4 separate regions of the Homo sapiens genome follow, and regions 1, 3 and 4 are each linked to region 2. Evidence: promoter capture Hi-C in human tissues and cell types (Jung and others, 2019). All regions are on one chromosome and are shown on one strand. The core of a region is centred on a gene start or on the middle of the fragment in contact, and the rest is flanking DNA. Distances in the headings are between cores, read along the strand shown.

Region 1 (5,365 bases), core at 2,624-5,123, 570 kb after region 2:
CCAGTTGAGTGATTGTTTTTCTCCTATGCCTTGTAAGATTGCCCATAAGGGAAGTGGCCAGGCCAGTAAGCATCATGCCCACTGGTCAACAGTCTTGATGGTGTTAGGACGAGTGTAGCAAGTGACATTCCCTACTAGGGTCAGTGCCACTGAAAGAAAAGGTCCTCATCCTTTAAAGACCTTAACTTTTGGCTGGCACAGTGATTCACGCCTGTAATCCCAGCACTTTGGGGAGCTGAGTCAGGAGGATCGCTTGAGTCCAGGAGTACAAGACCAGCCTGGGCAACATAGTGAGACCCTGTCTCTACAAAAAATAATTTTTAAAAAATTAGCCAGGGTTGCAGTGAGCCGAGATCATGCCACTGCACTCCAGCTTGGATGACAGAGTGAGACTCTGTCTCAAAAAAAAAAAAAAAAAAAAAAAAAATTAGCCAAGTGTAGTGGCTCATGCCTGTGGTCCCAGCTACTCAAGAGGCTAAGGTGGGAGGATCACTTGAGCCCAGGAGGTCACGGCTGCGGCCGGCTGAGATCACACCACTACACTCCAGCCTTGGTGACAGAGTGAGACCTTTTCTCCAAAAGATAAAAATAAAGATCTTAATTTTTCTGGGTACGTGGTAGCCTTATGCTTGGGTCCAGAGTCTTCTCCCTAACGAACCTGCCCCTGAGCTCCTCATCAGAGACACTTTGCCTGGTCTATCTCAAACTCTGTGTTCAGGTACAAGTGTGATTCTTCCAGATATCACACTGGGGCTCAGCACCTGCCGCTAAATAATTCCAACAACAGAGAATAGATAAAGCAAAAAGTGAAAGTACCCTTCCCAATCTCACAGGCCTGTGCTACTTCTATTAATGACACAATGTGTATCCTTCCAGATGATCACTCTTTGGGGACTCTTAAGAACATTTTTTACCTAAATCAATGCACATATTCTGAATATTAGACAAAGTCCACAGCAGTGCCCACACTGATGCACCCTCTCCAGAGCCTAAAATAGGGTATGATTACCTCGGAAGGTTTTAGTCTGTTCAGGCTGCTATAACAAAAGACCATACACCAGATGGTTTCTAACCAACAGAAATGTATTTCTCACAGTTCTAGGGGATGGGAAGTTCAAGATCAAGGTGCCAGCAGGTTTAGTATCTAGTGAGGACCCATTTCCTAGTTTGCAGGTAGTGCTTTCTTGCTGTGTCCTCAAGGTGGAAAAGAAAGGGGGGAAGTGTCTCTTATAAGGACACTAATCTCATTCATGAAGACTCTGCTCTTCAGACTTAATTATCTCTCTAAAGCCACACTTCTTAATTCCATCACCTTGGGGGTTAGGATTTCACTAGACGAATCTGAGGAGGATACGAATATTCAGACCATAGCACTGGCCAAAATGGACCAATTCCAGAACCTGGAGATCTTTTGGTGCTATAATCTACACCAATCTTGGGTCCTAACAGAACTTGGCTGGGTCATGGGACAAGCAAGGCTGTGCTGCTGGGCTGGCCCAAGTGTCAGGGTCAGCAGTGCTTCCTGGTTTCAGTAGCCAATGGTCTGGGAACAGGATCTGGTCTGAATTCCTCCTTATCCTGGCTGTGTGACTTGGGCCAAATCCCTCCACTCTGCAACTTCCTCACCTGGTGAAGACAGAGTTGGAATAAAGGGGATTTACCTGAGAAGCTGCCCAGGGTACCAAACTATAATGCAGTGGAATAGAGAAAATTGTATTGACTGGAATTCTGCTGAGGGAGTGTCTGGAATATTGTCTAAAGCAGTATTTTGGTAAGCTGCCAGGTGTTCGGGGCTAGAGGAACATTTCTTCAGTACAAATTCATTGCTTTGGCCTGCCCAGCATCCATTTCTTTGTCTTTTGGCACTAGAAGCCATATTTTCCTTGGTGACCGCCTCTCCTATTCTTAGCTCATTTGGTACGGGAGGTCCAAGTGCGCTGGGCTCTTGGAGCTGGCATGCACCCAGATGTGGCCAATCTGACCAACCACTACTGGTTATAGTGATTGATTTAGAGTTGGGCAAATAACTAAATCAATCCCATGATATTCAACCCTTTGGGGACATTTTTGGGAACTGTCAGATTCTTTTTATTGGGGCTGCTGAGAGGATAGGATACACGCCAAGAACTTCTGATGACTTCTTGCTGCCATCAGTGGGGTGACCCTACTAGAGGACGGATCAAAAGTGATGAGTTTTGGTGACATCATTCAAGCCCCTGGACCCAGTTTATACCTGAAGTGAGGTACATCCCTGGACTTTTCCTTTAAATGAGTCAATACATTTGCTTAAGCCTGTTTTGAGTTGTTTTTAGTCACTTACATTCAAGAAAAAAAGTCCTAATATGATTTCTAAGGGGAATGCTTGAGTAACAAAAGATAATCAATTTATCCACGGTTAGCTGCTGGGCTTTGGTCTTTCTGAGGAAAACATGAAAAATTGGGTGCTGCCTCCACATCTCCCTTTTCTACCCTTCTTTCACAGCTGTTCATCTTCTCATCTCTAAACAGATATTGAGCAAACATTTAAATAATGCCCATTTGAAAGGGCACTAAGGTATGACCTAATAAAGACACTCATATGTCATGGTTCAGAGCTACTGAAACCCAAAGTGTTGTGTTCTTGCTGCAATTTCTCCACTAATTGTGTGATCTTAAGTAAGTTTGATAGTTTCTCTAAGCCTAAACTGAGAAGTATCTGTGAGGATGAAATGGGACAATGTTCATGGAAGTGTTCTGAAATCCATAAGGCAGTGGCAATTGTGAGTCAAGAAAAATAGGAGCTCTTGCCACATTGGAAGTCAGCTGCTTTGTGGAGGAAACATCCTGAGGGAAGGAGGCAGCACTTTATATCAAAGCAGGGAGGCTCAGCTTGGACGTTTTAGTATCAGGAGATCAGTGATGCTAAATGGAAATTCAGCCCTCTGAGTGATGAGCCCTCTTCTCTCTTCTAACCCTACCCTCCAAAGCAGGCAAACAGTCAAGGTTTGTGGCAAGAAGTTCAAACTTTCCAGAACCTTTCAGAATAATTACATAACCAAGATAGGCAACTAACCAGAGATGACTACTGCGGGGCAAGCAATTTTACAATATAACACTTTTCAAGAAAGCACAAGGACCTCTTTTCAGCATCTAAAATTTTCACAGACTTCTTTCTGTATAGAATAGAATAGAATAGAATAGAATAGAATAGAATAGAATAGAATAGAATAGAATAGAATAGAATAGAATAGAAGAGTAGAATAGAACAATAGAATCTGTTGATTGAGAAAATACAGGCCAGGCATGGTAGCTCATTCCTGTAATCCTATCACCTTGGGAAGCAGAAGAGGGAGGACTGCTTGAGGTGAGGCATTCAAGACCAGCCTGGGAAGCATAGCGAGATCCCGTCTCTACAAAAAATTGAAAAATTAGCCAGGTATGGTGGCACATGCCTATAGTCCTAGCTACTCGGGAGGCTGAGGCAGGAGGATCGCCTGAGCCCAGGAATCCAAGTATGCAGTGAGCAGCGATCATGCCACTGCACTCCAGCCTGGGCAGCAGAGTGCAACCCTGTCTCAAACAAACAAAAAGTACACAATGAAATAAGTATGAATTCAATACTGCTTTAAAATGCATTTGTATATTATCCATAATAACAATGGTTCTTAAAATTTGGGAAGATAGTCTCACAAGATGTACAAAGCATATTATGTGCTAAGCATTCAAACAGTCCTCTTGGGGCATGCAGATCCCCGGCAAACAGATCAGACAAGTAGGACAGTCCTCGACGGACTGGAGCAGCTAACCCACTCCTGTTCTCCCTACAGCACCCCTTACTTTGCCAAAGCTGTTTTCTTAGCATTGTTAACAAAGGTACTCAGAGCACACTACTTCCAACTGAGGTTGTTATCCACTTCCTTTCTCACTCTTCTTCTCAGGTGGGTGTCCAGGTGATTCAAGGTCTCTTTCACCTTCTGCACTCCCAAAGACAAAACTCAGGACTACAAATAGAACTCACTCAGATTGTCAAGAGGTGCAAAAGTTTATCCTGGGCACACAGGTTCAACAGATTTTAAAAGCACTGACATTAACTCTACATCTTGAAGAAGACACTCAGAGAGTATAAGCCAAGCTCTTTTCTGGAGAGCCCATTAACAGAGAAGCAGGTCAAGCAGGGGCTTAAGTACAAGAGTATCTTTTCAAAAGCCAACTTAAAAAGCTCAAGCTCTCTCCCCATTCTGAGCAACAAGGTCCATTGCTTCAAGGACCATGTCTTTGCATCTCAGTGATAGCAGGTGGTGTCCTGGCCTGAATCCTCTAAAAATCTAGGTGTTTCAAGGTTCAGGCTTGGCCTTAGAGTAACCATAGGACTTCAAGAAACCTTTCATGTCTCCTTGGTTCCTCCTCCCCAAGGATTTCTCCCTGACCTCTTCCAACTTCTTGCTGAGAACCTAAAGTGAGCTTTCCTGGTATATTGAGCCTCTGAGCTAAGAGGAAAAGAACAACAGTCTGTGTAACTCTCAAGAAAATGAGGACATTGTAATAATCATATAAACACCACAAAATCCAACCCTATCCACATACCTGGCCCCTCTAATTTCTAGAAGCCCAGACAATAAGGGAAGATGGCAGAGAGTCAGTTGGGCTGATGGCCACTGATCCGAAGCTCATGTGCGGGGGTGTTCAATGCTGTAGGGCTGGGGCCAGGGTTAGACATGAGTCTGGATTTTCCACCTAGATTCTTGACAACCACTTGGCTTCTCACAAATACCCCAATCAAGAATGCAAGAGCTGGCTGGGCGCCGTGGCTTACACCTGTAATTTCAGCACTTTGAGAGGCCGAGGCAGGAGGATCACTTGAGCTCAGGCGTTTGAGACCAGCCTGGGCAACAGAGCAAGACCTCATCTCTACAAAAGATTTTTAAAAACTAGCCAGGTGTGGTGGTACACACCTGTGGTCCCAGCTACTACTCAGGAGGCTGAGGTGGGAAGATCTCTTAAGCCTAGGAGAGGTTGACGCTGCAGTGAGCTATGGTCGCGCCGCTGTACCCCAGCCTGACAGAGAAAGACTGTGTCTCAGAAAAAAAAAAAAAAAAAAAGAATGCAAGAGCTTATATTTTCTGTATTCATCAATAAATCCTATCAGACCAGGAACACCCAAAGTGTGATCTGCAGAATAAGAGCACTACATAATGCAAACAATCTCTTTCTCTCTCTCTCTTTTTCCAGGGTAGGGAGAGTTCCATGGTTAGGTGAGTTTGAACAGTGCAGGTAAAACAAAGCTTCACTTGCAAGGCTTCTTGTAGTGTTTGCTCTGTTAATGTACACTGTGATGGAGACTGCTGCATTTTCAAAACCTCTATAAGCCCTTTTCAGGGAAAGCACC
Region 2 (5,717 bases), core at 1,163-3,662:
TCCAGCTTTGATTTTCCTTAACAAGCCTCATCAGCTGCCATATTGCCTTGAGGGGATGTCAGTTCAGGCACATTCTCACCCAGAAACTAAATTGTAATATTTATCTCCACCACTACTCTTTATGCAGGGTAATAGGAAAAGAGAGTCAGGGAAGAAGTAATTAACATTTTAAATGGAGAGCTACTATAATTCCTGCCTCTAGAGCTTGTTGCAAGGCTAAAATTAATAATCATAGCTTCCTACTCATTTACTTATGTATGTTTCCCCTGCCCTATGCCAACACCTAGGTAGATCAGGATTTTTTTATCTGGTATGCTTCAACACTTTAATTTCTTCATGATCTGAAATTTCTGCATTACTTCAGTTATCTGATAATCATTATTATGGCACACGGCAGTATTAAGAAGTGCCCAGTGAATCTCCAGGTGTCATGCATAGTTCTTCTTGCCCTCAATATATAGATGTAACCCAATTTCCTTTTGGTATTTGGGATGAATCATACCATTCTGTCACTGTGAGGAATCAAAGTGACCAGAGGGCAGTTTCAGCTTTCGAATCAATGAATTGAAATTCAATTCAATTCAGTGACGGGGTCTTCTAGTGGCAGCATTCCTTCCTTTGGATCTAGGCTTCCAAACACAATAAACCCAAGGTTGTAGAAATGGTGTGCTGGAATACTATGCAGCCATAAAAAATGATGAGTTCATGTCCTTTGTAGGGACGTGGATGAAGCTGGAAACCATCATTCTCAGCAAACTATCGCAAGGACAAAAAACCAAACACCGCATGTTCTCACTCATAGGTGGGAATTGAACAATGAGAACACTTGGACACAGGAAGGGGGACATCACACACCGGGGCCTGTTGTGGGGTGGGGGGAGGGGGGAGGGATAGCATTAGGAGATACACCTAATGTAAATGACAACTTAATGGGTGCAACACACCAACACGGCACATGTATACATAGGTAACAAACCTGCACGTTGTGCACATGTACCCTAGAGCTTAAAGTGTAAAAACAAACAAAAAAAAGAAATGGTGTGCTGGATATTTTCTATTTCTCCCTCCAGGCATTGTGCCTAGTAGGCTGACCTCTACAGACTACACAGACCTAGCTCCACTGTCTTCTGGCTTCCTGGTGGATCCAGCCAGCGGAAGACCCCAGCTGGATATCAGAGCTGGGAGAACAGAGAGGTGGGTCTTCTCCACTCTGTCCCTGCTTTGGGCTGACGTCTCAGCACTGGCTACAACTATAGAATCTCACCTTACTTGGTGAAAAGTTGGCATTGCTTGCTTTCCTCTACTGAACGACACGGTTCCAGTTGGTTACTCTCTCGTACAGCCACAGCTACCGCTCTCGCTCTCGCCTGGTTTTAGTAACTGCTTCCTTCCCCCACCCCTCAGCCCTATAGTTACTAACAGCTCCCCGCTGTTACTGGTTACTACTGGTTACGGAAGGCGAACTATGTGCCCGACACTGTGCTAAATGCCCACATATATTATCTTTTAGTCCTCACAATCCAATAAATTAGATGGCTTTAGTCCTGTTGCAGAGGTGATAAATTCAGAGTGACAGTGACAGAGCTAGAAATTGAAGGTAGGTGTGTTTATGCTAGAGTCTGTGCACTCAAACACGATTCCTTACTTCTTGCATCAGTTGTTAACCTCCCTTCAAGAGTGTCAAACCTCCTGGTAACCCGCCCATTCCCTTAACTGGAAATGAGGGTGCTGTTGCAATTTTCTCATCCAGCCATTCCACAAATGGTATCTGGAATGTGGGACCCACAGTCCAGAATCCTGAGGGCTGCTGTTGAGAGCATCAAGACGCGCCCAGGAGGTCAGGGCGGTGTGCACTCACACGCTGAGCCTGGAGAAAGTTAGACGCCTTCTCCACCGCTGTGGTGGTTAGCAGGGACTTTCCTGAAGGCCAGAGACTGGTGACGTTCATGCTATTTTTCCAAGCCATTTGGTAGCAAAGAACAGAGTGCCAACAATTCAAGCATTCTCTCAGGCTGGGAGAGAGACGTGGCTTATTCAAGATAGAAATTGCTGGTGAGGTTGAGGCGAGACCGACATCTCTCTGAGCAGCAGGGGAGAAAGACGGCTCTGTTCAAAAAAGAATGGGTAATTTCAGTCAATTCTCTTCTTTCTCGTTTCTGTCTTATCTTTATGACTTTTTAATAGTGCCAATTTAACAGATGAGGGGACAGAGGCCTTTAATTGAGAATTCCACTCCGCTTCCTCTGCCTCATCTCAAAAATCTGGCAGCTGAGTCGCCGCGGCTTTGAATTTGCCTCTTTTGACCTTCCCCTCCCACCTCTGGTAACACTGAGCCTGGCCCGGAAGGACACACCCGGCTTCTGGCGGAAGTGCCGGCTCTTTAAAGAAGCTGAGGGCTGCGCGAATTGGCTGAGGTGCGTCATCTACTGTGTCTGGGCGCCAATCCCGACGCTGGGCGGAGCGAGGCCCGGTCCCTGCAGCGGGCGAAAGGAGCCCGGGCCTGGAGGTTTGCGTACCGGTCGCCTGGTCCCGGCACCAGCGCCGCCCAGTGAGTGAACACCGGCCGCAGGCGGGTGGGGAGAAGGGTCAGCCCGGCCATGTCAGTCAGCGCGATCTCCTGGGCTCCGGGCTTGCCAGGCAGCGCTGGGCGCCCGCTCCTCGTGAGCGCCGGCTCTTGGCTCTCGCACTGCCCCTGGTGCTGATAGGTATTGCCAACTTCGTTCCATTAGAGCGCGTTCTTGTCGCCTGGCGTGGACTCCGGATCTCTCCGTAGCTTTAAAATAGAGTTGAGAAAAACAGGCACAGTGCTCTCAACAGAAATCAGCACACTATTGCGGGGAATACCTAAATTACAGTAACTGGCCTCAGGGAGCAAGGGCGGTGTTAATTACAGAAAACCTCCGGAAGCTGTGGGCTCTGGGCTGGAATTTGCAAGGGGATGTGGCTTAATTTCAATGGGATGCAAATATTGAAAATGACTGTGGTGAGACGATCAGTCATACATTCAGGCAATGTGTCATCTGATCGGGAAATAAGTCAGCGTGGTAATCCCGATGACAGAATTCATGCAATTAATTTTTTATGTCCCCCCAAGTAAAATCAAATCTAGGTACTCACGGGTGACCGGAAGAAAGGTTGTCTGGAACTTGCAGGCACCACTTCTCCTCCCCAGAAATACACCTTCCCATAGTAATCTATAGCTCACCTGAGGCAGGGCTGAAGCATTAAAGACCCCTTCCAAGATCTCAGAAGGAATCAAAGGGAAAATGAAGACAGAGGGATTGAAATCAGCATTCTCTGCAAAACATCACTCTGAGACACAGTGATGTTTAAAATTGTATAAGTAGCAAGACATTTTTTTTTACCCCTGGTGAAAAGTGTTAGAATTTTTAAAAGACTTAACTTATACAAGTGAGTGAAATCAAAGTTATCCCTATTGCAAGGTCAATTTTGCTTATTTTCTGATACATATTTTGTGAGCAAGAGGAGATAGCTGAAAGTGTTCTGGACACCCTACGGAATATTCCCAGACTTTGGGAAATGACTTTGCCAGGAATGGGGAAGTTGGGAAAGGAAAGAATGTTGAAAATACTGAACTCCAGGGTGAAATTTACAAGGTGTGATGCATTTATTTATTCTCAGGTGTGGTTTCCCATAAGGAAGCTCTTCTTCCTGCTTGGCTTCCACCTTTAACCCTTCCACCTGGGAGCGTCCTCTAACACATTCAGACTACAAGTCCAGACCCAGGAGAGCAAGGCCCAGAAAGAGGTAAATCTAAATACTAACTTCCCAGACAGTGTTTCTTTCCCAGATGATTGACATGAGGACTCTCTCTTTTCAGGGGAGATCCTAACCCCTTACAAACAGGAGCACTTGAAAGCACACAGCTCTGTGATATACAGGGTATGTGGAGGAATAGTACTAGAGTACAGTTGTTTTCTTTATAAATGTTTGCAGCAGGTGTAAAAATTTAGTCATCCACTCCTATGTTCAGAAGAAAAATAAGTAATGGCAAGTGGCCTGAGCCACAGTTTTTCTTGTATCTCTCATGCTTTGTGCAAATATTTAGGGGAAGTAGACACCATGGAGACTATCAAGATGGATAATATCTCGCTCCTAACCTCAGGCAGGTTCTGGTCTGCTGTTAGAGATGAGTCGCATGGGACTGTTAGGGTTTGGAGAAAGGAAAGAACTGCCAAATCACCCTGCTGTCAGTGAGTGGCCTCTAACTCTGGTCACAGGGTGCTCGAGTGGCACAGTGGCAGAAGGGGAGGGAAATCTCACCACCTCAGGCCTTTTCAGCATTGTGCCTCTTCATCCTGGTAAGTGGTTTGGTATCCTGTGCTCAGCTTTGAAGCTGACTCTGGCACAGAGCCCTGAAACTCCAGGTGTATCCTTGATCAGAATACAAGGAAGTCACTGAAGTCTTGCTTGCAGCTCCCACTCACCTGGAACCCCATTAGCTGGGCTTCCCACAGAATACTTGGGAATCCTGGCTGTAATGAATTAAGACTGGCCATTCTTACCTGAGGTTCACAACCCTACTCAACAGCCTATTAAAGAGAAAAGGTATCAGCAACATTGTTGAGAAGGGTAGAGCAGTTGTAACTTTCCCCTGAGTTTTGCAGTATTCTGAAATGCAACCAACTAACTCAAGGTCTTCTGTACCCACCCAGTTGGATTAAGAATAAAAATTGGAGTTCTGTCCCTTGTAGAGTTGACAGCCCACTTAAAAACTTACATAAGATAGACACTACTGTGCATTCATCTAAAAAGTACATTTTCCAGGACATTCAAGTATCTGTATGTTTTTCCATTTTTGAGAACTTTAGTACATGCTATCTTGGAGAGAATGAGAGTGAAGCTGGAGGAGGATGGCTAAGGCAGTTAGCAGTGGGTGGATGGAAATAAGGGGCATGTAGGAGAGGGACAGGGATTGTGGTGGGATGACAGGAAGAATAACTGGTCTACTGACCTTGAGACAGCTCAATCTTCTTCTTTTTTTTTTTTTTTTTAGTATTTATTGATCATTCTTGGGTGTTTCTTAGAGAGGGGGATGTGGCAGGGTCATAGGATAATAGTGGAGAGAAGGTCAGCAGATAAACACAAGAACAAAGGTCTCTGGTTTTCCTAGGCAGAGGTCCCTGCGGCCTTTGGCCCTGTTTGTGTCCCTGGGTACTTGAGATTAGGGAGTGGTGGTGACTCTTAACGAGCATGCTGTCTTCAAGCATCTGTTTAACAAAGCACATCTTGCACCACCCTTAATCCATTTAACCCTGAGTTGACACAGCACATGTTTCAGAGAGCAGGGGGTTGGGGGTAAGGTTATAGATTAACAGCATCCCAAGGCAGAAGAATTTTTCTTAGTACAGAACAAAATGGAGTCTCCTATGTCTACTTCTTTCTACACAGACACAGTAACAATCTGATCTCTCTTTCTTTTCCCCACATTTCCCCCTTTTCTTTTCGACAAAACCGCCATCGTCATCATGGCCCGTTCTCGATGGTCGCTGTCTCTTCGGAGCTGTTGGGTACACTTCCCAGATGGGGCGGCCAGGCAGAGGCACACCTCACTTCCCAGACAGGGCGGCCGGGCAGAGGCGCTCCTCACTTCCCAGACGGAGCGGCCAGGCAGAGGCACACCTCACTTCCCAGACGGGGTGGCGGCCGGGCAGCGGTGCTCCTCACATCCCAGATGATGGGTGGCCAGGCAGAGG
Region 3 (5,633 bases), core at 537-3,036, 820 kb after region 2:
GAGGCCACAGGAGGAAGGAGGTTATGAGACCACATGTTATGAATCCACAGGGGAAGGAGGTTATGAGAAGGAGGTTATGAGGCCACAGGGCAGGTTTGTGGCTATAGCTGAAAGGGCCTTAGCATTGCTGACTCCTGCCCAGCTGGGGGTGGGAGAGAAGAGAGCTCCTGGGACAAGGTGGCACACACATATGTATATGCCCAAAGGATATGAAAATGGCCTGGCTTTAAAAATCTCTTTTTATATCTACCGGTGACGTGGGGAGGGGGATCAGCAGTCCAGAAAAAGTCCCTTGTCATTGCCTGAGCCCTGGTCACACTGGGGGAAGCCATGCTGACCTTAGAATTGCCTTACAAATATTCATTTTAAAAACATTTTTTAATCAACCTGGAAAAATCCAACCTAGTCTTCACTTTCTCTCTGTGTCTTTATTACCTCATTTCCTAGTCATCCTTGCCATACTTCGGCATTAGGTCTGCTTGCCTATCATGATCATTTATGGTCATGATAGTGATTTCCATTTTTGCTATGTTCTATATTTCTCCAAGCTTTTACATATTTGTTGTCTCAATTTAACATTTGTGTCTACCTTGGACAAATATATTCAAGAGCTCCTGCATAAATGGGATTCCATGAAAACCAAAGAAAATGTCAGAGGAGACAGAGTTTATAAATTTTATATTAGACACACAGTACTTTCTTTTAGGTTCTGGGCGCCTGCTCAAATATGAGTTTTTCAGGCTGCTTAAGGGTTATTGAACTTACTCATTCACTTTAGACTTGCTTTACCCTTCTCCCTTCCACATGTGCTGTCATTGAAAACAAAACGTCCAGAGGCTTACACCTGTAATCCCAGGACTTTGGGAGGCTGAGGCGGGTGGGTCACCTGAGGTCAGGAGTTCGAGACCAGCCTTGCCAACGTAGTGAAACCCCATTTCTACTAAAAATACAAAAAATTGGCCGGGCATGGTGGCGGGCATCTGTAATCCCAGCTACTCGGGAGGCTGAGGCAGAGAATCTCTTGAACCTGGGAGGCGGAGATTGCAGTGAGCCGAGATTGTGCCATTGCACTCCAGCCTGGGCGACAGTGTGAGACTCCATCTCAAAAAAAAAAAAAAAAAAAAGAGAAAACCTGACTGTTGACCTCAAAAAGACAAAAACAAAAAACAAAACAAAGCAAAAAACCCCCACAACCCGGAGAATTGAAGTGGCTCAAGGGAGACTTAAAAGTGATAGTGTAACTTACAAGGGAGCATTTAAGTTTTTAAATAATTAATTCATTGTCTAAAATTTTTGTACTGCTGTAGAATAAATATAATGGCAGTTTTAAGGCTAAATGGTAATAATGAGTCATTGAAATGCCTGTTCCTCTTTCTTCTAGCTTCTTCTCTTGACAGCCTTGCAGCTAACGTAAAGGTAATTTTAGAAGTAGAATTTGTAAAATGATTTACTTCCAGATATCTTATGTCAATTATTGTGCTTTTTCCAATCAGTGGTGGATATTTCTAGTTAGTCTGCTTAGGTGGAATTGCTGTAGTTTAGTGTTTGTATGAAGATGTGCCCAGACTCCATGTTATACTTTGCTTAGGGGTTAGTTGGTTTGTGCCCCTCATATAAGTAGGATGAATCACCAAGGAGGGTGTATGTAGACCCAATACCTACTTTATTGGTAGTGATTTTCATTGCTTTTTCTCTAATCAAATAATTTTATACATAGAGGTGGTAAATCACTTGTTCTTGAAGTTTGATTGGTTTGTCAAAGTGAAGGCTCAAACTTCTATGTAACAACATGAGAATAGATTTATGCAAAGAAAATGGAATATACTATGCTTCTTATGCCATAGCGCTTAAATATTTTGTTAAAGTTACATTTTTCCCAGACCAATAATCCCTAGTCCTCAGAAATCAAAGTTCAGAGCATGAGTTTATTTTGGTTTTTTAATATATCCCAAACATACAGACTTTTGGTTATTTTTATCAGTCTGAACTCCTGAGCATTTTGTCACTAGTCTTCTCTTCTCCAGATCCTCTTCTATTTGCAGGAGATCCCTGGGGCAAATATTCTGTCATCTTAGCCCGAGTTATCTTCCTTGTCCAACCCCCACCCCCAGCTCTAAATTAAGCAAACAGAAGCAAAATTACAACTAAATAATGCATATTGTCACTCAGGTTATCAAAGAGCCAGATGAACGGATTGTTTTAAGGAGTGACTCATCATCATGTTTAGATTCAAGTCAGTTTGGAAAGTCTTCATCCAGTAAACAAGGGGATGCTGATTTCCACGGGAAAGCTTCATTTGCCACCTACCAGCATTCCACCTCTCCTGGCCCCTTGGATCAGCCCCTTCTCAGAGAAAGGTCAGTGGCAAGCACCCATCTGTTTGCCTGACGAGTGCATTGTGGCCTGGCAGGGGTAAAGCTGGGTCATTTCACCAGCTTCCTTTCTTAGGAATATTCAGCTGGTGACACCTTGATATGAAAAAATGATTATTTCTTTTAAAATCTACCCAAAAGTCAGAGGCATATCTCAGAATATTTGCTGTAAATGGGATAGACAACTAACTTTGACATAGGTACTATTTATCTACCCATTTTTATTTGTCATAAATTTAAAAACTAAACCTTTTCATTTTACCAGTATAAAAATGTTCACCACAGAAAGTTTGAAAATTACAGAAAAAAAAGTGGAAAAAAATTACCTATAGTCCTACCACTCAAAGACAAATGTTAACATATGGGCATATATTCTTTTTCTAGACATGATTTCTTTGCTTACATTATTTTCACAAACAATGAAAATACATTTGCATATGTCTGGAGAGCAGGCCAGAGAGCAAAAGCAGAAACCTTTATTTGCCAAACAGCACTCTCTAGTAGGGTAAGTAACCACTGGTTTGCTTGGGTCTGCCTGATTTTAGACCTGAAAGTCCTGCATTCTGGGAAACCCTTGAATCTTAGGCAAACCAGGACAGTTGGTTACTTTAACTTCGGGGAAGTGGCACTGAAAATAATATTTATAAGATCATTGTTCTGAATGAAGGATAAGCCAATCTGCTTTTCTCTGCATTATTAGTGACGAGAATAAGAAGCAAACTCCACGTACCAAAATAACGCAATTGCTCTCAAAGGGACTCAGAGTAAATATATCCCAGAACCACAGTGGCCCTGAAATTTTTACAGGAATTATATTAACTTTGAGGTAGACTAAGAAAGTGGCAATCCCTTCTTAGTGTTTTTCAGAAATGACATAATAACTCTATATTCAAATGTTAAATCATGGATTTGAGGAAGCCAGATCAAATATTTTAATAAAATCCATTAACGTATGACGAGCTTTTGATTAGTTACTTTATTAGAAGAAAATAATACAACATAGATTTTTAAAAAACTGGCTCCGGCTGGGCACGGTGGCTCATGCCTATAATCCCAGCAGTTTGGGAGGCCAAGGTGGGTGGATCACCTGAGGTCTGGAGTTTGAGACCAGCCTGACCAACATGGAGAAACCCTGTCTCTACTAAAAATACAAAATTAGCCGGGCATAGTGGCGCATGCCTGTAATCCCAGCTACTCGGGAGGCTGAGGCAGGAGAATTGCTTGAACCCGGGAGGCGGAGGTTGGGGTGAGCTGAGATCGTGCCATTGCATTCCAGCCTGGGCAACAAGAGCGCAATTCCGTTTAAAACAAACAAACAAACAAAAAACTGGCTCTGGCACACAGAGACAAGTGGTCAGAGACACACTTACACCTCTCTATGCCTGGCCTCTGTCCCCTCCTGTCTTATGCTTTTGCCACCAGCCTGGAATTCAGCAGGCTGGCAAAGCACAGGAGGTCATCCTGGATTTAAAGACTTGTAGAGGATTGATTTTAAATGAAGAACGGAAAGAACTTTCAATTAACAGTGGTCAGGAGACATGGGCTCTAGCGCTCATGTGTCTCTAAGTGCTGGGTGATTTCACACAGCTACTCCACCTATTTTTTTAAATTAATTATTATTATTTTTTTTCGAGATGGGGTCTTGCTTTGTCACCCAGGCTGGAGTGCAGTGGCACAATCACAGCTTACTGCAGCCTTGACCTCCCCAACCCAAGCAATCCTCCTGCCTCAGCCTCCTGAGTAACTGGGACTGCAGGTGCGCACCGGCATGCCCGGCTAATTTTCATATTTTTATTTTTGTAAAGATGGGGTCTCACTGTGTTGCCCAGGCTCTTCTCAAACTCCTGGGCTCAAGCAATTGTCTTGGCCTCCCAAAGTGCTGGGTACAGGCATGAGCCACCGTGCCTGGCTTCAACCTTTTAAACCTCAGTTTCCTCATCTTTAAAATGGGTTTGATGATCAAAGATCCATCTGCATACAGCCACAAAGTGCTTCTCAGCCACCAGAACTGGGGAAAACCCGTGGTTTTTGTCTCTGTGCCTGGTATCTATAACACCTCCCAAACTCCTTAAAAGCAGTACAGCAAGCTTTTCTGAGAGACTGTATTGAGCATGCTGTTATTGGGCAACTGTTGGGGGCAATGGACACCATCATGACATGTCTCTGCTTTCCACTGGCTCACATACTAGACAGGAAGGCAGACATACCCCCTTGTCACTGAATATGAGATAGATTGTGGTAGGTACCTAACAGAAGTACAATCCAAATGCAGGGGAGAGACAGAGTGAGAGGAAATCAGTTACATCAGGAGAGAGACCTGAGAAGTCCTCTTTTCTCTTTAAATATGTGTTAGATGGTTTATGCATTCATTCAGCCAGCCTTTCCTGAGTGTCTTTATGCAGCAGGCCAGCAATTCTCAACTCTGGCCAACGGAAGAATTGCCTCATGTTTACTGAGTCAAAATCAACTGGGATTGGAATTGAGTATGTGGGCGGGGAGCACGTTAAATCTGTGGTTAAGACGGAAAGCAGGAATGATACTCAATCTGCTAGGCCAGCAATGGGAACACTAACATTTAAGACATTTCTCCTGATCTCTGAAAACTTGCAACCTAGCAGAGGATATAAAAAAAATAATAAAAAAGAAGTATGCAAAGAGCTTTCTACAAAGCAGCACTTTGTGAATAGTGTGGAACAAAAGTTACTGGAGTATAAAGAAGAAGGGTGGTACTTCTGGAATGTTTCATGGAGGAGGTGATGCTTTCATGTGGCCTTGAGGAGAGAAGATTGGTTTATGATGGGGTTCATAGAGGTGAGTGATGGCAGGTGGGAGGCAGGGGCACTGTCAGCTTCCAGCAGTTAGAGGAGTTTGGGAGAAAGTCAGTGCCAGGACTCAAAGGTTTGAGGGGGACCTTTGTTGGCTGACCTAAGGAGCTTGGGCTTTGCTTGGAAGGAGTGAGGAGCTCTGTGACATTAGTCACAGGAGTTGGCACAAGTGACTTTAGAAAGATGAGTCTTAGCTGCAGACCAGAGTTTTATTGGCCATCTCTGATGAGGCAGCAAATTCTTTGTGCCCAAAGTCTCTCTAAACTGGTAACTTGGGACCTAGTTGGACTATGAGTTTGTAAATAAGGCCATGATTATCAGCGGCAAATAATAACACAGCCACAGAAAGGCCATCCAGTTTGCCCATGGCTGTCCTGGTTTCAGTACCAAAAGTTTGCATCCTGGGAAACCCCTGAGTCCCAGGTAAACCAAGACA
Region 4 (6,165 bases), core at 2,980-5,479, 890 kb after region 2:
GATATCATGCCACTGCACTTCAGCCTGGGCAACAGGAGTGAAACTCCATCTCAAAAAAAAAAAAAAATAGGGCTAGTATTTTGTATGTCTATTTTTAATATAACTTTTCTAGTAATTTGCTCTAACTATAGTTTACGAAGGTTATTGATCTGTAACAGATCAGAAATTTTAACAACTGGATTTGCTCCATCCAGTTTAAAAACTAGATGTTTTGTGAAGCCCTGGTGCGGAGACCAGTTACTGTGGGCTTTCAGAGGAGCCTGAACTGTCACCAGATTGAGATGAGCAGGAGAGGCTTGATGGAACAGGTGGCACCTGAATTGGGCAGAAAAAGAAGAGCACGATTCCAGTTCCCTGTGAACCCAGGGTTATCCATTAGAACCTGGGACAGTTTTGAGGCTCGGCTGTGGCCTAGAAACAGGGATAAAATCCCCGGTTGTCCTTGGAAGTCAGGGGCACCTGCTAGCTCTTTATTTTAGGTAAAGGCATTTATTTGCTTTTTTCACCTCAGGAGAAGGCTCTGATGAGCAAGGGTGTTGGCTCCCAGCCAAAGCAGTAATCATCTGAACTTTTTACAAAAACACTCCAAAGGAAGCAGTTGCCTGGCTAAACAATAGCATGTTTTAAAAATAAACATCTGAGGGCAAAAGACTCCTCCTAGAGCTCTCTGATTAAGCAACCACCCACTGAGAACAAAGCTTTCGTGACAATCTCTCCACATTGCTGTTAAGGTATCAAAATTCAACCCCTTATTGGAAGTTCTTTTAGGTCTGACATTTGGTGGTGTTATGCCATTATAAGTGGACACCACATCCAAGAAACTCATTGTTGCATAGGAGTTAAAACTCGCCATGTGGATGACTCCTGTCTCTGTCACCGGCAGAGAGGCCACCTGTGCAGAGAGAAGGCATGGGCTTTGGTGGGACAGACTGGGCTCAAATCCCAGCCTCCTCCCAGACTCAGCTTCTCCATCTATAAATTGGAGGATCTGAAATGCCTCTATCGCCTTTAGGTTAATTGTGAGGAACAAAGTGAACAACCTCAGCTTGCGTAGCTGTTGTGAGGATTAGAAATAATGTCTATAACAGGCCTAGTACAGTGCCCAGAACACAGTGTGTTCTTAGTAAATAGCCTGCATGATTACTGAATAAATGATAAAGATGATGTGCATCACTGAGCAGATGGAAGGTATTCAACAAGCATTAACTGATTCATTCATTCCCTCCCTCATTCATTCCTTCATTACACGGTCACTAAAGAGATCCTTTAAAAACATAAATCAGGTGATTTTATACATCAGGATAACCCTTCAATGGCACTGAAGATAAAAAGAAAAAATCCTTACCTTGGCCAACAGGCCTTGCAGGGGAGGCACCTGCCTGCCTCTCCAGCCCCTCTTTGTGCCATCTTCCTGTCTCATCCCCTCCTCCAGCCTCTTCTGGAACAGACCAAGCTCCTTCCCACCCCAAGGCCTTTGCACAGGCTCTTCCCTCTGCCTGGAGTGCTCTTCCTCACTCTTCATTTGGCTTTTAAGTCCTTTCCTCAGAATCCTTCCCTGATTATCCACCCTAAACCAGGGTGTCCTGATTTCCTTGCTTGGCATCCTGTGCATATCATATCTCAACAATTTTTATCATTGGTTCATTATTTTATATCTCTTTCTTGCTAGGTTTTAAGCTCCATGAAGGCAGGAGACCTAGCTATCTGCTTGTTCACGAATGTATACTCAGTGCCCAGCACATAGGAGATGCTCAGTAAACATGCTGATTGAATGACTAACAGGTATTTAAGTATGGCTGACTGCCCTGGATCCCTCTCCCAGGCTCTGGCCCCTTGGCAGCAGAGTGTTGCCAGAACAAAACTTGCCAGTTCCAGCTGCTGCCCTTATGATCTGTGTGATCTTGAAAAAGTGGCTTAATCTGTCTTCAACCTCCTGTTTCCTTATCTCTAAAGATGGAGTTAAGGTCCCACCTACTTGATGACTTCATAGGGCTGCTATGAGGATTAAATAAACAGGTTCATGATTTTTAAATTCCAAAATGTTTCTTTTATTCCCCAGAGAAAACAAGGCAGGATATGATCTTACTTTGTTAATCCAGGGCATAGGGAAATCTCTGCAGCCTTGATTAGTACTCCCTGGATGTTCAAAGGGAAAGGAAGAGGCAAAGAGGAGCATGCAAAATCTTTCTGTGCATGCATCACCTATGACATCTACTTTTCTTAGAGACATGAAGAACTCTCTTAAAATAGGTAATATCACCACTCTAGGCTATTTGGTGATGTTAACAAAATAAACTGGTCCTTGAGCAGAATCAGCTAAAGGTCCCCTTGAAGCCTCTGTCAGCTGGTCCACATTTGAAGTTCAAAACATGCATCAAGAAGCAGTGGGCTCTCCAGGTGCAGTGGTTCATGCCTGTAATCCCAGCACTTTGGGAGGCTGAGGCAAGTGGATCACTTGAGGTCAGGAGTTCAAGACCAGCCTGGCCAACATGGTGTAACCTCATCTCTACTAAAAATACAAAAATTAGCCGGTGGTGGTGGCACACACCTATAGTCCCAGCTACTTGGGAGGCTGAGGCAGGAGAATCGCTTGAACCCAGGAGGTGGAGGTTGCAAGTGAGCTGAGATCGCACCACTGCACTCCAGCCTGGGCAACACAGTGAGACTCTGTCAAAAAAAAAAAAAAAAAAAAAGAAGCGGTGGGCTGTGTCCTGGTTTCAGCAGTCCAGGAGCTGTTTTAACATTTTTTTCATTACTATGGAACACGGTGGTATTTGTAGTTAGGACCAGTTTTTCAGAAGACTCCATGAACTTTTTGACTCCCTGAACTTATTGTCCAGTAAAAGCATTAAATATACCCCAAAGAATCTGAGGAACTCAACTGTTCTTTTCCAAAGTCCATATGAATGCTCTGACAGCAGCAGCTAGCTAATGGCTCAGTGAGACTTTTCTGGGTTTTTGCCACAACCTAAATATGACTGAGCTGTCTCTTTGCTTCTCTTTATCCATAAAATTGGTATCTCGGACTTCTAGGCAAAAGCTTCTTACATGCTGGTGAACTTTACAAACTGATGGCAGAGCAAGTCTTTTTATATTGTTCTCATTTCCAGAATGAATGCATTCAGTGTGTTCATATCTGCGTAGCTCAATTCTGATATTGGCCCTGTAGATTCTGCTGCCAGTTCAGGTACTTTATAGGAACTTCTGAAGGTCTCAGACAAAAAAGAGTAAGTAAAAAAATTGTATGGCATTCTAGATGTTCTATGAAACATTATTATTATCCATATTTTAAAGCTGAGGACAAGTTAAGTAAAATCCAAGGTTTCACAGCTAATCCATGGCAGAACCAGGATTCAAACCCAGGCAGTGTGGCTCCTGTCTGTACTCTTAACCACTGGACTCTCTTGCCCCTCTAGGATGGATACTTATTCAGGTGTCCCTCTGTAGAGAATGGCACAGGTGGGAGTCACTGCTAGAATTGCTTCCCTCGCCTGCAGGCTCAAGTCCAGTCCCCTTGGCAAGGCACACGAGGCCAGTAAACCCTTGTGCTCCCCCTTTCCATCCCATTCCTCTTGCCCACGTTTCCAGCATCGCACTTCAAGTCTCACTGTCCTCCCAAGATGCTATTTTGGGAGGACAAAGATGCTATTTTCTCTTGCCTGGAATACCCACCCTCTTCCTTTCACTTGATTTCTATGCTTCCTTCAAAATGGCTCCTTCCAATGTCCCCTGCACTGACCTCATTCCCAGAAAGTGCTTATCACACAGCATTGTAATGTACTCTTTCTTGCTGAGATAAGACTTAATTTTACACCTTGTGTGTCTAGCAGAGCCTGGCTCATTAAAGATAGAATGAATAAATAAATAAATGAACGAATGGTCTTCCAGGTCCATGCCTCCAATATATAGAAGGTCCTTAGAATCCCTTTTTAAGTAATCAAATCAGGTTATCTTACAGCTGAACAGAGCTATGAACAAGTCTAATACCTGTTTAGTCAGAAAGAAGGCTCATGCATGGTTGATTCTCTGGGCTTCACTGTCTCAGGAAAGACTAAAGCAGGGCATATTTATCTCTTGCCACTATTCATTTTATTACTTGCAAATGGCATGTTCATTATGGGAGCTCTTCCTTATACACTATGTGGTCGTTTTGTCTTTGGAGGCCAGGCATTTCAGAAATCAAATTGATACAATAAGTCCTTTGGCTTCAACAGCTGTATTCTAACTCAACACAAATTTCTTGATAATCTTAGGGAAAGGAGCACTTAAAGTGCATGAAGAGCCCACTGGTTCCAGATGTTGCAAATGAGGCAAGAAGTTCACTCTCAGACTGTACAGTCTTAGGCAACAAACTTGTCTTCCTGCCTGGAGTTTTAAGTTTATAAACCACCTTGAATGGCAATTTTCATAGAAACTAAACTGTATAATGGACCACCAATGTTTCAAGAAAAGAATGCATACTCCTCCCTCGTAGCTAAAATTGACATTAAATGCTCTTAGCCACCTATGTTTATGAACAGTAGCTTACATTTAATAGCAAGTTGTACAACAAAGTGATATGCGTCTTCAAGTCTTGCAATTCTTGCTAACGAGGGACTCCTGGACCTGACTATCAGATGACCTCAGCTCCATGACCATGTGAGTGGTAGGGCCTCACCCTCTTATACCTGGTTTTCTGTTAGTCTGTTTTCATGCAGCTGGAGTTAACAAATGTTAGCTGAATAAAACTGAACCTTGTCTCGGGGAGGCACGTGGCATGGTTCTTTTCATAGGAGGATGTGGGATTGTTTCCAGATACACAGCTGCCTCTGAGTAAATGAATACATAGCCTTTAAAAAAAAGCCTTCCTCAGCCCCAAAGATTTAAGTGTGTCATCTGCTGTAAAGCCTGAGTTTACAAATAAGGTGCTCTAAAACTATCACCAACTGCACTTTATTCTGCTCACCCTCTATTCTTCAGTCTCTTCAGTGCATTCATACTCCTTGCCTGATGTGGTAGTTTATTTTGTTACCTGGATTCAACCTCAACTAGATTGCATCTGGAGTGTCAGAGTCTAGCTGGGCAGGGGTCAGCTCCTGGCTGGCCTCCTGTTTTTGTAAATGAATGTTTCATTGGCACACAGTCACCCTCAATCATTTACATACGGTCTGTGGCTGCTTTCCCATGACAAACAGAGTTGGGTAGTTGGGCAAAATACACAGGACCTGTAAAACCTAGAATATTTACTATTGGGCCCTTCATAGAAAAATCCTTGCTTGAAAGGCAACCAACTCACATATGCATTCTACATCTGGCTGTTGTTTAATAAATACTGAATATACCTAAGGTTTTATAAGGCTTTAAACTTTTTTACTTGGTTAAAAAGTAGGGCAGGTGTGGTGGCTCATTCCTGTAATCACAGCAGTTTGGGAAGCCAAGGTGGGAGGCTCACTTGAGGCCAGGAGTTTGAGACCAGCCCTGGCAATATATCAAGACCCTATCGCGACAAAAGTAAGAATTAGCCAGGCATGGTGGTGTGGGCCACCCGTAGTCCCAGCCACTAGGAAGGCTTAGGTGGAAGGATGGCTTGAGTCCAGGAGTTCAAGACTACAGTGAGCTATACTGGTACCACTGCATTCCAGCTTGGGCCATAGAATGAGACCCTGTCTTCCCACCCTTTCCCAACAAAAAGTAGTAGAAAACCTCTGATCCTATGGTTGAGGTCAAGCCCTAAAAATTTTGAAATCCTAACATGAAAGCTGGAGTAACAATCATCTAAAAGTCTGGAGCATTTTTTGTTTTTTAAATCTTCCAAGGGTAGAGTGTTAAATTTATCTTTGGAGAAGATCCTCAATTGTAAATCCAGTCACCCAACCAGTGTCTGGTGGAAACTGAAAGTCATTGATAAACAAAACGCAAATATTTTCTCCTGACGTCTAGTGTTTAATAATGTGACTTGTCCAGGAAGCAGAATCAGTACTAGGACTCACACTCAGTGGCCTGGGGGAGAGAGGAGGGAAAGGAGGGAGTTTTCTTGGCTTGATATCTGCTTGGCTTGACATCCACTGAGCTGCAAACTGGTGCTGTTTCTTGAGGAGCTGTGTGTGCCCTTGTTTGAGCAGGCGTTTTTAGGAAATCCAGAGCTGCGACATCACAGGAAGGGTTAGGAATGAGCAACTCCTTGCT

Evidence for each region. Contacts are between HindIII fragments. The study calls those that stand out against the background at their distance.
Region 1: a contact is called between a fragment that was not itself captured here and the fragment with the promoter of PLGRKT in region 2, in 1 of the 25 tissues and cell types used here (lymphoblastoid cells).
Region 3: a contact is called between a fragment that was not itself captured here and the fragment with the promoter of PLGRKT in region 2, in 1 of the 25 tissues and cell types used here (lymphoblastoid cells).
Region 4: a contact is called between a fragment that was not itself captured here and the fragment with the promoter of PLGRKT in region 2, in 2 of the 25 tissues and cell types used here (lymphoblastoid cells and stomach).

The regions. Positions count from the first base shown.
Region 1 is chr9:4,869,810-4,875,174 of GRCh38, reverse strand. No RefSeq gene overlaps it. Among named protein-coding and RNA genes, the nearest start is that of MIR101-2, 22 kb to the right of the region's middle. The HindIII fragment of the contact is 7,452 bases long and covers 148-5,365 here.
Region 2 is chr9:5,434,620-5,440,336 of GRCh38, reverse strand. PLGRKT (plasminogen receptor with a C-terminal lysine) reads left to right here and starts at 2,412. Exons shown (of 6, transcript NM_018465.4): 1 at 2,412-2,548; 2 at 3,643-3,768. RefSeq lists enhancers at 1,046-1,205, 2,766-2,855, 1,911-3,110. The HindIII fragment of the contact is 22,053 bases long and covers 1-5,717 here.
Region 3 is chr9:4,614,647-4,620,279 of GRCh38, reverse strand. It overlaps SPATA6L (spermatogenesis associated 6 like), which reads left to right. Exons shown (of 12, transcript NM_001353486.2): 8 at 1,382-1,416; 9 at 2,170-2,357. Among named protein-coding and RNA genes, the nearest start is that of PLPP6, 45 kb to the left of the region's middle. The HindIII fragment of the contact is 3,178 bases long and covers 198-3,375 here.
Region 4 is chr9:4,549,893-4,556,057 of GRCh38, reverse strand. All of the region lies in intron 2 of SLC1A1 (solute carrier family 1 member 1), which reads right to left. Among named protein-coding and RNA genes, the nearest start is that of SLC1A1, 63 kb to the right of the region's middle. The HindIII fragment of the contact is 4,720 bases long and covers 1,870-6,165 here.